Linked DNA regions of Homo sapiens: regions 1 and 3 are each linked to region 2. Evidence: promoter capture Hi-C in 16 types of primary human blood cells and fetal thymus (Javierre and others, 2016). All regions are on one chromosome and are shown on one strand. The core of a region is centred on a gene start or on the middle of the fragment in contact, and the rest is flanking DNA. Distances in the headings are between cores, read along the strand shown. Region 1 has its middle 21 kb from the start of TBRG4. Region 2 holds the start of PURB (purine rich element binding protein B). Region 3 overlaps OGDH (oxoglutarate dehydrogenase).

What was found. The method cuts DNA at HindIII sites, captures the fragments that hold promoters and counts their contacts. A CHiCAGO score of 5 or more calls a contact.
Region 1: a contact is called between a fragment that was not itself captured here and the fragment with the promoter of PURB in region 2, in 12 of 17 cell types (fetal thymus, M0 macrophages, neutrophils and 9 more). The highest score is 9.5, in fetal thymus.
Region 3: a contact is called between a fragment that was not itself captured here and the fragment with the promoter of PURB in region 2, in 3 of 17 cell types (monocytes, naive CD8 T cells and total CD8 T cells). The highest score is 9.9, in monocytes.

Annotation. Positions count from the first base shown.
Region 1 is chr7:45,131,213-45,134,859 of GRCh38, reverse strand. No RefSeq gene overlaps it. Among named protein-coding and RNA genes, the nearest start is that of TBRG4, 21 kb to the right of the region's middle. RefSeq lists an enhancer at 539-1,039. The HindIII fragment of the contact is 5,554 bases long and covers 1-3,647 here.
Region 2 is chr7:44,883,595-44,887,109 of GRCh38, reverse strand. PURB (purine rich element binding protein B) reads left to right here and starts at 1,580. Exons shown (of 1, transcript NM_033224.5): 1 at 1,580-3,515. The coding sequence starts at 1,762. The coding sequence ends at 2,700. RefSeq lists enhancers at 1,151-1,400, 1,549-2,508 and silencers at 1,391-1,750, 2,041-2,090. The HindIII fragment of the contact is 4,558 bases long and covers 1-2,630 here.
Region 3 is chr7:44,641,319-44,644,771 of GRCh38, reverse strand. The region is part of intron 2 of OGDH (oxoglutarate dehydrogenase); the gene reads right to left. Among named protein-coding and RNA genes, the nearest start is that of OGDH, 36 kb to the right of the region's middle. The HindIII fragment of the contact is 9,176 bases long and covers 1-3,453 here.

The sequences.
Region 1 (3,647 bases), core at 1,027-3,526, 250 kb before region 2:
CCAGGGCCACTCCCCAATCCCAGTGTGATACTGGCAAGTCCCTGACCAAGCTGAGCTTCAAGGCCCCCAGCTGTAAAGAAGGGGGCCCCTTGGCTGGAACAGTGAAAAGCCACTCCATTCAGGGCTCATTACCTCCTCATTCTCTACCCAAGGCATTGACCTGAGCCTCAGAATCTCCCCAGGGTCAGTGTTTCTGCAGAGTAGGGGCATCAGCTGGAAATCAAGAGTTTATGGAGATGTAGAGGCCAGGCCTGCTGCCCTCCCTTCTACAACCCCACCCCTGCTGGACTTTCCCTTCTCAGCCCAGGAGACCCAGGCCCCGGTCCCACATACCTTCCTCCCAGGCCCAGTGCCTACCTTTGTCCAGGCTCCCCTTCTCCTCTCCTCCCACCTCCCTGTCAACTGGCAAAGGGCCTTTCTAAAACGTGTCTGATCCTGCCTTGCCACCCTGACCCCTGGCCTGGCCCCCATGGCTCTCCATGGTCCAGCCCTGCCAGCCTCCCCAGCCCTCTCCCACCTCAGTGTTGGAGAAAATGACTCCCCAAAAAGACCCTGTTTCTCTGCACCTGCCAGGCTGCATGATATCTCAGCCTAGGACCATCCATGCTCCTTGCGTCCTTGTGTAGCGCTGGACTCTTCTGAAAGCTCGGGGGCGACTCCCTGTCAGAAGCCTCGCAGCTGGGGAGGAGCCTCTGTGGGTATGCACCTGGGGTCTGCATTTCATGTGCCTGTGCCCCTGGCCACACACAAGTGTTAGCAAATGGACCACAAGTGAACAAGCTGGACAGAGATGACACCATGAGGCCTTAGCCACCAGGGCTGCGCCCAGCATCCTCTGCAGCCCTGCTCTACCTGCTGTGGTCCAGGGCAGAAACAGAGCCAGTGGGACATCCAACCCACCTGCCAATGACCACAGGCCCATGAGGCCCACGGTTCTGCTAGGTACAAGAGAAGGGGCAGAGGGCCCACTGCAGCCTCACAGCCTTGCAGCCCTGGAGTAGGAGGTGGCAGTAGAGCTTTGAAAGATGGGAGGAGAGAACTTTCTAAGCAGGAGCTAGAGGCAGGAGGTGTAGCAACTGTATGCAGGGACATGACTTGGTGAGACAGGAGATGTAGGAAGGGTGTCAGAGCAGACAGACCATGATGAGGGCAGAGGGCTGAGGGCAGGACCTGCACCCAGGGTCGGGACCCCTATAATGAGAGTGAGACCTTCACCGAAGGGTCATGACCCCAATGACAAGGACAGGACATTCACCCAGGAGTCCTGACTCTGATGACAAGGGCTGAGGACCTGCACCAGGGTTGTGACCCTGATGACAAGCATGAGACCTTCACGTGATCAGAGGCCGTGACCCTGATTGCAAGGGCTGAAGGCAGGTCATGTACCCAGGGCCTGTGGCAGTCACCACAAGACCAGGACACACCTGTGGAATAGCATGGCCTCCTCCATCCCTGTCTTTACTCAGAGTTTTGGAGAAAATCCTGACCCAGCTGACCCCATAGGACCAGGAGTGGGGACAGTGTGCTCCAGATGACCACAACCCGGGGCCTCATTTCCCCATCAATCCTGGGCACACAGGAGCTGCTGGGGAGTGAAAGAGCCTGTGCATCTTAGAAGATGATAGGCTGGAGCCAGGCAAGCCAGGGGCCAACAACCTTCCCCTGGGCGCAAGAAGAACCCTACATTCCTTGCCTCTGGGGCTGGTGAGCCTGGAGGAATGGCATTCCTGGAACCCTCTGGCTTCTCCATTTGGCCCTGAGGGCTCTAAGGGCAGCTGTGCACCTAACCCGAACTCCTTGTCCTGCCAACACCTCTCACTCCTCCCCACTGCCCCCCACCAGCCACACAGAACATGTGTTCCCTCCTGGCCCCCCGGGCCCCAGCTCCCTCTGGTAGTTGGAATAGGTCTCATTATTACCCCATTTTACAAATGAGGAAGGAGTAAGCTGCTCAAGGTCACACAACTAGCACAGCCAAGACTAGATTCACACAGGCATGCACTCAAACGCTTCCTCTAGGCCACTTCATTCAAGGTCATGAAGGGCATGAATGCCACACCCCAGCATTTGGACTTCTCCCCCCAGGTAATGGGAAACCGCCGAAGAGTTTCAGATGGGGTTGTGATAGGATCATGCCCAGGCGTGAAAGGCCATGCTGGACAGAGCATTGACAACTAACTGGAAAGTGGGGAGGCCTGATATAGTCTTCCCTCCCTCCATCCCTGCCTCCTTCCCTCCCTCTCCCACCTCCTCCCTCCCTCCTCCCCTCTCTCCTTCCCTCCCTCCCTCCCTCTCCTCCTTCCTCCCTCCCTTCCTCCTTTTTTCCCTCCCTTCCTTCCCATTAAAGGCTAATGCCCCAGATGCTGCAAATGTGCTGTTCAACAAGATGAGAGAGGTCCTGTGCTCTGGAGGACAGTATACAGGACATCTCATGAACAAATCAGATCGTCTGTAGTCAGACAAGTGTGTTAAGGCGGTTGTTGCAGTGGCCGATGCCACAACAGCCCATCCCAGGGCAGCAGCCCAGAAGAGCTGACAGGAACACACTCAAGAGGGTTTTGGAGGGGCATCCACCAGTGGCCCAACCTCTTGGTAACTGATTAGATGGAGAAACACAAAAGGGAGGCCCTCCAAGTCTCTGGCTGTGAGGAACCATTCCCAGGGAAAGGAGATGTGGGAGGAGGCCAAGTTCTGCATTGGCAACAGTGGGCAGATGTGGGTCCAAGGCCTCTGAAGGCTGAACAGATGGGCGTGCTCCGGACCAGGCAGGGCCCTGGTTGTGCCTGGGAGCTGCTGCCAGGGATGCAGGGGTGGGGGCTAGGGCAGGGGCTCAGGGAGCGTGGGCGGATGCTTCCCACAGGATGAGGGGAGGGGAGAGCAGAGAAAGGGGATAGTGGCAGTGCCATAGACATTCCCTGAGGAGTGAGGACTATAGAGGGACAAGAAACAGGAGGGAGGCTGGGGGAGCTGGGGTGCAGGGGCAGTTTGAAGGAGGACTGCAGAGGCTGGACACCACTGAGAAGGAAAGACCCAGCCAACCTGAGCTCATGGAACTAGCAGTTACTTTACGCGTAGAATAATTTTATCTGTAGGAAAACAGCCCTGGGATTTCCAACTTCATATGAAAGTAGTAGGGGATTGGCCAGGCGTGGTGGCTCATGCCTGTAATCCCAGCACTTTGGGAGGCTGAGGCGAGTGGACCACCTGAGGTCAGGAGTTCAAGACCAGCCTGGCCAACATGGCAAAACCCCGTCTGTACTAAAAAATACAAAAATTAGCCGGGTGTGGTGGTGGGAGCCTGTAATCCCAGCTACTCGGGAGTCTGAGGCAGGGAGAATTGCTTGAACCCAGGAGGCAGAGGTTGCAGTGATCTGAGATTGCACCACTGCACTCCAAACCGGGTGACAGTGAGACTCTGTCTCAAAAAAAAAAGAAAGTAGTTGGGGTTGAAACAACACGATGTTTCAGATTTAAATTCCAACAACAACACAAACAATAGTAACATGAGTCCGACAAAATGTTGACAAGGTTAATCTAGACCATCGGTCTGTGAGTACCTATTGAACTATTATTTTTACTTTGCTGTATGTTTAAAATTATCATAATAAAAAGTAAAAATAAAAGCCTCCACCATCACCCATCGACCT
Region 2 (3,515 bases), core at 331-2,830:
TACTAGCAATGTATGAGTTCCAGTTTCTTCACATCCTTCTCAACACTTGATGTTACATTTTTTAATTTTAGCCATTCTAGTTGGTATTTCATTCTGACTTTAATTTATATTTCCCTAATGATGAATAATGTTGAGCACTGTTTCATGTGCTTACTGGCTTTTTTGACGAAGTGTCTGTTAAAATCTTTCACCTTTTATATTGGGTTATCTATTATTTGTGTTCTTTACAAGTCCATTGTTGGATTCACTATCTATGAATAACTACATTTAGGCTGGGTGTGGTGGCTCACATCTGTAATCCCAGCACTTTGGGAGGCTGAGGCGGGCAGATCACCTGAGGTCAGGAGTTCAAGACCAGCCTGGCCAACATTGTGGAACCCCATCTCTACTAAAAATACAAAAATTAGCCGGGTGTGGTGGCGGTTGCCTGTAATCCCAGCTACTCAGGAGGCTGAGGTAGGAGAATTGCTTGAACCCGGGAGGTGGAGGGTGTAATGAGCTAAAATCACGCCACTGCACTCCAGCCTGGGTGACAGAGCAAGACTCAAAAAAAAAAAAAAAAAAATTTAAGGATGAGGACATTTTGGCTTTGGAAAATCAAGTAACTGGTCAAGGTCACAGATTCAAACCCAGTGCAGTTGCAGAGCCTACACTTTTTAACACTATTCCAATTCTGCCTCTTGTTACACCTCAATGCTTACAACAAAAAGACCTCATAGGAATTATTCATTTTATTGATAAAGAAACTAAAGATTGGCAGTCAATTTCCTTAACCACTTTAATATGGCTAACTGTGGGGACAGTTAACTGATCTCTGGATCCCAAATCTAACCTCATCCTAAATCATCTTCTTTCTATATTGTTCCCACAGTGATCTTTCCAAAATGTGAACCTGATCACATACGGTGGCTCCAGACTCTGGGGTAGGCACTAACTCTCCCGCACTGCAAATGGCTTTCCTTGATCTAATCCACCCTCCAGTGTCATCTACGACCATTCTTCAGGCATACACACCCCCAGCTGCTCTGAGCTCCCAGCATCAGGCCCTGGGTGCCTCTGCACTGCCGTCTCCTATGCTGGGTGGCTCTTCTCCAGAGTTGCCAGGCCAACTGCAGTTTGCCCTTCAGAGTCAGCTCATGCCTCCTCTAGGGAACCCCACAGGCTGGTCAGAACCCGCTTCCGAGTGCTCCAAAGGATCTCCCTCCCCCCGGTCGCCAGTGTATAGACTGGAACTCTGTTCCCAGCACACAACCAGCGCGAGCAGGCTGGGGCCTGAGTATGCTCAGCTAACGCCCCGGAAGCGAGAAGGAGGGAAGTGGACGACACCGGAGTCTAAAGTAAAAGTGTCACGGGAAGAGGCGCGTAGACAGACGCAGCGGGCGGCTGAGTCACGCTAAGGCTGGCAAGTCCCCAGGGCTAGAAACCGAGCAGTAACACTAGCCTACTCTCAGCTTGCCGCCCGCCCGGCGCGGCCCCTGACGTCACCCCTCTGCGCCACGCCGCCGCGGCGCTTCCGGCCGCGAGGCCGCGGAGGGCGGGACGGAGTGACTTCACGGGAAATCGCGCGCCGGAAGTGGCTAGGGCTGCACGGAAGTCGCGGGGGCGGGGCGCGGAGGCGATGGGGGGGCGGCGGCGGCCGGCGATGAGCGGCGGGAGCGCGTGAGCGAGCCGGGCGGGCGAGGCTGGGGGGCCCCGGAGCGCGAGCCGGAGGGCGGGGGCGCGAGCGCGGCGGGCGGTGGCGGCGAGGCGGCGGCCTAGAAGATGGCGGACGGCGACAGCGGCAGCGAGCGCGGCGGCGGCGGTGGGCCGTGCGGGTTCCAGCCCGCGTCCCGCGGCGGCGGCGAGCAAGAGACGCAGGAGCTGGCCTCGAAGCGGCTGGACATCCAGAACAAGCGCTTCTACTTAGATGTGAAGCAGAACGCCAAGGGCCGCTTCCTCAAGATCGCCGAGGTGGGCGCGGGCGGTTCCAAGAGCCGCCTCACGCTGTCCATGGCGGTGGCCGCCGAGTTCCGCGACTCGCTGGGCGACTTCATAGAACACTACGCGCAGCTGGGCCCTAGCAGCCCCGAGCAGCTGGCGGCTGGCGCCGAGGAGGGCGGCGGGCCGCGGCGCGCGCTCAAGAGCGAATTCTTGGTGCGTGAGAACCGCAAGTACTACCTGGACCTCAAGGAGAACCAGCGCGGCCGCTTCCTGCGCATCCGCCAAACGGTCAACCGCGGCGGTGGCGGCTTCGGCGCGGGCCCCGGGCCGGGCGGCTTGCAGAGCGGCCAGACCATCGCGCTGCCTGCGCAGGGCCTCATCGAGTTCCGCGACGCGCTGGCGAAGCTCATAGACGACTACGGAGGCGAGGACGACGAGCTGGCAGGCGGCCCGGGAGGCGGCGCCGGGGGCCCAGGGGGCGGCCTGTATGGAGAGCTCCCGGAGGGCACCTCCATCACCGTGGACTCCAAGCGCTTCTTCTTCGATGTGGGCTGCAACAAATACGGGGTGTTTCTGCGAGTGAGCGAGGTGAAGCCGTCCTACCGCAATGCCATCACCGTACCCTTCAAAGCCTGGGGCAAGTTCGGAGGCGCCTTTTGCCGGTATGCGGATGAGATGAAAGAAATCCAGGAACGACAGAGGGATAAGCTTTATGAGCGACGTGGTGGGGGCAGCGGCGGCGGCGAAGAGTCAGAGGGTGAGGAGGTGGATGAGGATTGAAACGGGCAGCTTCCCCTACAGGCCTCCACCCAACCACCATCCCCTTGGCTAGAGAATTCCCTTTCCTGCTCATCCCCAGTGAGCTAGTGGAGAGGGAGCAAGGGAGGCCGCAGAGGGAAAAAACAAAACGTAACACAGTTAAGAGAAATAATCGTAAGAGAACAGTGACGGACAACTTGAGAAAAGCAGTCAAGTTCCAAGGAACTGACAGCAACCTGCAAAGAGGAAAACAGCATCTCCTCACCTGCGTAAAATTGTCTCAGCTTCTGTTGTTTCTCAACTGAGGTTCGTAAACCCATCAGGATAATCCCTGGAGGGAATAGATCCTTGCACATCCAGGGCAAGAAACATGTCCAAGTTACCCAGACCATTGATAACAGTTGCATTTAGGTTGCACCTGGGTAATCTGGCATAAAAGATCTCTCTAGGCCTCACTGTTGCGGTGTCTATCCCTTCACCTCCATTGAAATCAGCATTTTGGATCTAGGTCTTCATGGAATCCTTGAGAAGAGAGGCCTTTACAATTACCCAGTTCTGAGGGTTCAGGTTCACGAAAAGAAATGCAACTTGGGATAATCATGAACAGGTTAAAGATAAGATTTCAAGAAGCCATCTAAGAATACAGAACCAAATTGGATCCATTTTTTTAAAAAAATGGTTTTGCATGGAACCTGGACCAAGGCAAATGTCTTTTCTTCGCAGAATTGTTTTCCAGGATGCCAGTGGATTCAGATAGCAATGCTTGGAGTAGAATCCGTTACTAAAATAGTTTCAAAGTTGACAAAAAATTTTCAAAGATAAAAGCAGTTTTACAT
Region 3 (3,453 bases), core at 95-2,594, 240 kb after region 2:
CCCTGGGAACAAAGTGGAACCTGATCCTTTGTAAGAGGCAGCACTAACCCCACAGAGAAATAATATCATTGCTACCTCAGGAGAAACTCAGGAGCTAAGAGCTCAAAGTGTGGGGTCAGAGATGGAAATTCAAATCTGATCTCTGTGTCAGGGATCAAAATTCAAATTCAAGAGGTAGGCTCTTAGTGAGTTACCTTTCTGTGCTGTTTTCTCATCTATGAGGAGAGAAATATATACATTCTTCATAGGTATGCTGTAAAGACTACCCTAGTTAAAGGCATTAGCACACAGTCTAATACTTCACAAAGTCAGGTGTTAGTTATCAGTTTGAATTTCCTTAGAAAAACTATAAACTAATTTACTTATATTCCTACTATTTTTGGCTATTCCATGTCTGAATTATTTGATTTACAATTTGCAGATACTGTGAACTGTAATGGTTTATTCATCTCATACAAAGATGCAAGTTTTTAAAATATTTAAGAGATCAGACATACTAAGACTTCACAAAAGTTCATTGTAAAAAGAAAAGAAAAGCACAATTAAACATCAGTTTATTTTAATTTTTTTGAGATGAAGTCTCGCTCTGTTGCCCAGGCAGTGTGGTGGCATGATCTTGGCTCACTGCAACCTCCACCTCCCGGGTTCAAGTGATTCTCCTGCCTCAGCCTCCTGAGCAGCGGGGATTACAGGAGCACGCCACCAGGCTTATAATTTTTGTATTTTTAGTAGAGATGGGGTTTTATCATGTTGGCCAGGCTGGTCTCAAACTCTTGACCTCAAGTGATCCACTTGCTTTGGCCTCCCAAAGTGTTGGGATTACAGGCGTAAGCCATCGCGCCTGGCAAAACATCAGTTTAAAAAAAAAATAGAAACATTGTTTTTCTTTTCTGCAATACCTTTTCCAGCCTCTAAAATTCTTCCATCAATAAACTCTGATAAGACTGTCTTGAAAAACTTGGAGAGGCAAGGCAAAACTTTATGAGATCTTTGCATTCTCCTTCTAACAAGATGCCACCCAGATGTGCTCCTTGTCTGGGACATGGCTGGATATCAAATGGGTCTGTCTGAGTCTGGAGACCAGAAGGTAGAGATGGCTACAGAATCCAGTATGCTGGTCCTTAAGGTCTTCTGTTTTTTTCAGACAGGTTCTTTTATAATGCTGGCTAGGGCACAGATGTACGTCACTCAGATGGTCCCACTACCAAGAGCACTGCTATATACTGCTGCTAGACACAAACTAGAAAAGACACAATGATAATGCACAGGCCTGGACCATCTGCCTCATGCAGGGGAGTCTGATCTCTCAGTGAAATCTGTTTTTGAGGGGAGTTTTGTGGAATACTTTTTTTTTCCTTCCCTTTTTCTTTTTTGTAGAATATTTAAAACATTCTATAATAAGCATGTATTTTTTGGTATTCAGAAAAAATAACTTAAAGAAAACAACCACCAGAGATGTGACTGCACAGTATTGTGAACATACTAAAAACCACTGTAGCTGGGTGTAGTAGCATGTGCCTGTAGTCCCAGTCACTTGGGAAGCAGAGGCAGGAGGATCACTTAAGCCTAGGAATTCAAGGCTGGCCTGGGCAATACAGCAAGAACCCATCTGTTAAAAACAAAACTCCACTGAATGGTACACTTAAAAAATGACTTTTTTTTTTTTTTTTTTTTTTTAAAGAAACAGGGTCTTGCTCTGTTGCCCAAACTGGTCTCAAACTCCCAGCCTCAAGCAATCCTCCTGCCTCAGTCTCCCAAAGTGATGGGAATCCAGTTGTGAGTCACCAGGACCAGGCCAAATAATTACATTTATGTTATGTGAATTATATTTAAAAATTTTTTTTTTTTTTGAGACAGAGTCTAGCTCTGTTGCCCAGGCTGGAGTGCAGTAGTGCAATCTCGGCTCATTGCAACCTCTGCCTCCTGGGTTCAAGCGATTCTCCTGCCTCAGCCTCCCGAGTAGCTGGGATTACAGGCGCCTGCCACCATGCCCAGCTAATTTTTGTATTTTTAGTAGAGACAGGGTTTCACTGTGTTGGCCAGGCTGGTCTCGAACTCCTGACCTTGTGATCCACCCGCCTTGGCCTCCCAAAGTGCTGGGATTACATGCGTAAGCCACTGCACCTGGCCTTTAAAATGTTTTTACAAATCAAACTATTTGAGGTTTTACGGTTTTTACCTTTCTGGTTAATTTCTGGTGTATTGTCTGATGTAGAAGACAGATTTGGGGTTCTCTTCTGGCACCTCCCACAAAACCTATTACAGAAGCATCTTATACAAATGTAACCCAACAATCAGGAACATGAAAAAAGGCTGCAAACTTTCCTTTTCTTTCTTTTTTATTTTTTGAGACAGGGTCTGGCTCTGCTGCCCAGGCTGGAGTAGACTGGCACGATCTTGGCTCAATGTAACCCCCACCTCCGGGGCTCAAGTGATTCTCCTGCTTCAGCCTCCTGAGTAGCTGGGACCACAGGCACGCACCACCACGCATGGCTAATTTTTTTACTAAATATTTTTTTGTGGAGATGAGGTTTCACCATGTTGCCCAAGTTGTTCTTGAACTTCTGAGCTCAACTGATCTGCCCGTCTCAGCCTCCCAAAGTGCAAGGATTATAGGCATGAGCCACCATCTGGGCCTAAACTTTCCTTTTCAACAGATGCTATCAAAATGTTTGCTAAAGAAACCCAGGGTTTGGAATCTCCAAAGAGATTCTCACCTTCCTCCATTAAATCGGTTCTCATGAAAACTCAGTGTTCTCCTCCAACATGAGAAAAGGCAGTATTTCCACCAGAGGAAAAAACTGACTTACTCTTAGGAGAGAAAACAGAGGATGTCTCAGCATCAACTCCCTAGGCAAAGTAAAGGCTGCCTCCCACTCAGTCCATGACTGGTTCTGTCAAGGACACAGGGATCTAAAAGGTGGCTGTGCACAAATACACTGGACACCCTCAGGTACTTCTGACTTCATGGAGCTTTTCCAGCAGGACTGAGAGCTCCATACATTCTAGAAGCAGAGATGACTGGGGACCACATGCATTGGACATCCATCTTCATTGTGAAAGCAGGGATGACCAATGACTGCACTTCTTGGCCTCTACCCAGGCCTCCAATAACTGAGGACCTGACCTAAAAGGAGAAACCCCTTGAATACAGCAGGAAACTGAGCAGGAGTCAGTCTGGCTGTATCCCACCCCTGCACAGCAAGAACCAACAGCAAGCTACCACTGTCACGTAAAACCTAATCAGGCCAGGCGCAGTGGCTCATGCCTGTAATCCCAGCACTTTGGGAGGCCAAGGTGGGTGGGTCACCTGAGATCAGGAGTTCGAGACCAGCCTGGCCAACATAGTGAAACCCCGTCTCTACTAAAAATACAAAAATTAGCTGGGTGTGGTGGTGCAGGCCTGTAGTCCCAGCTACTTGGGAGGCTGGGGCATGAGAATCGCTTGAACCT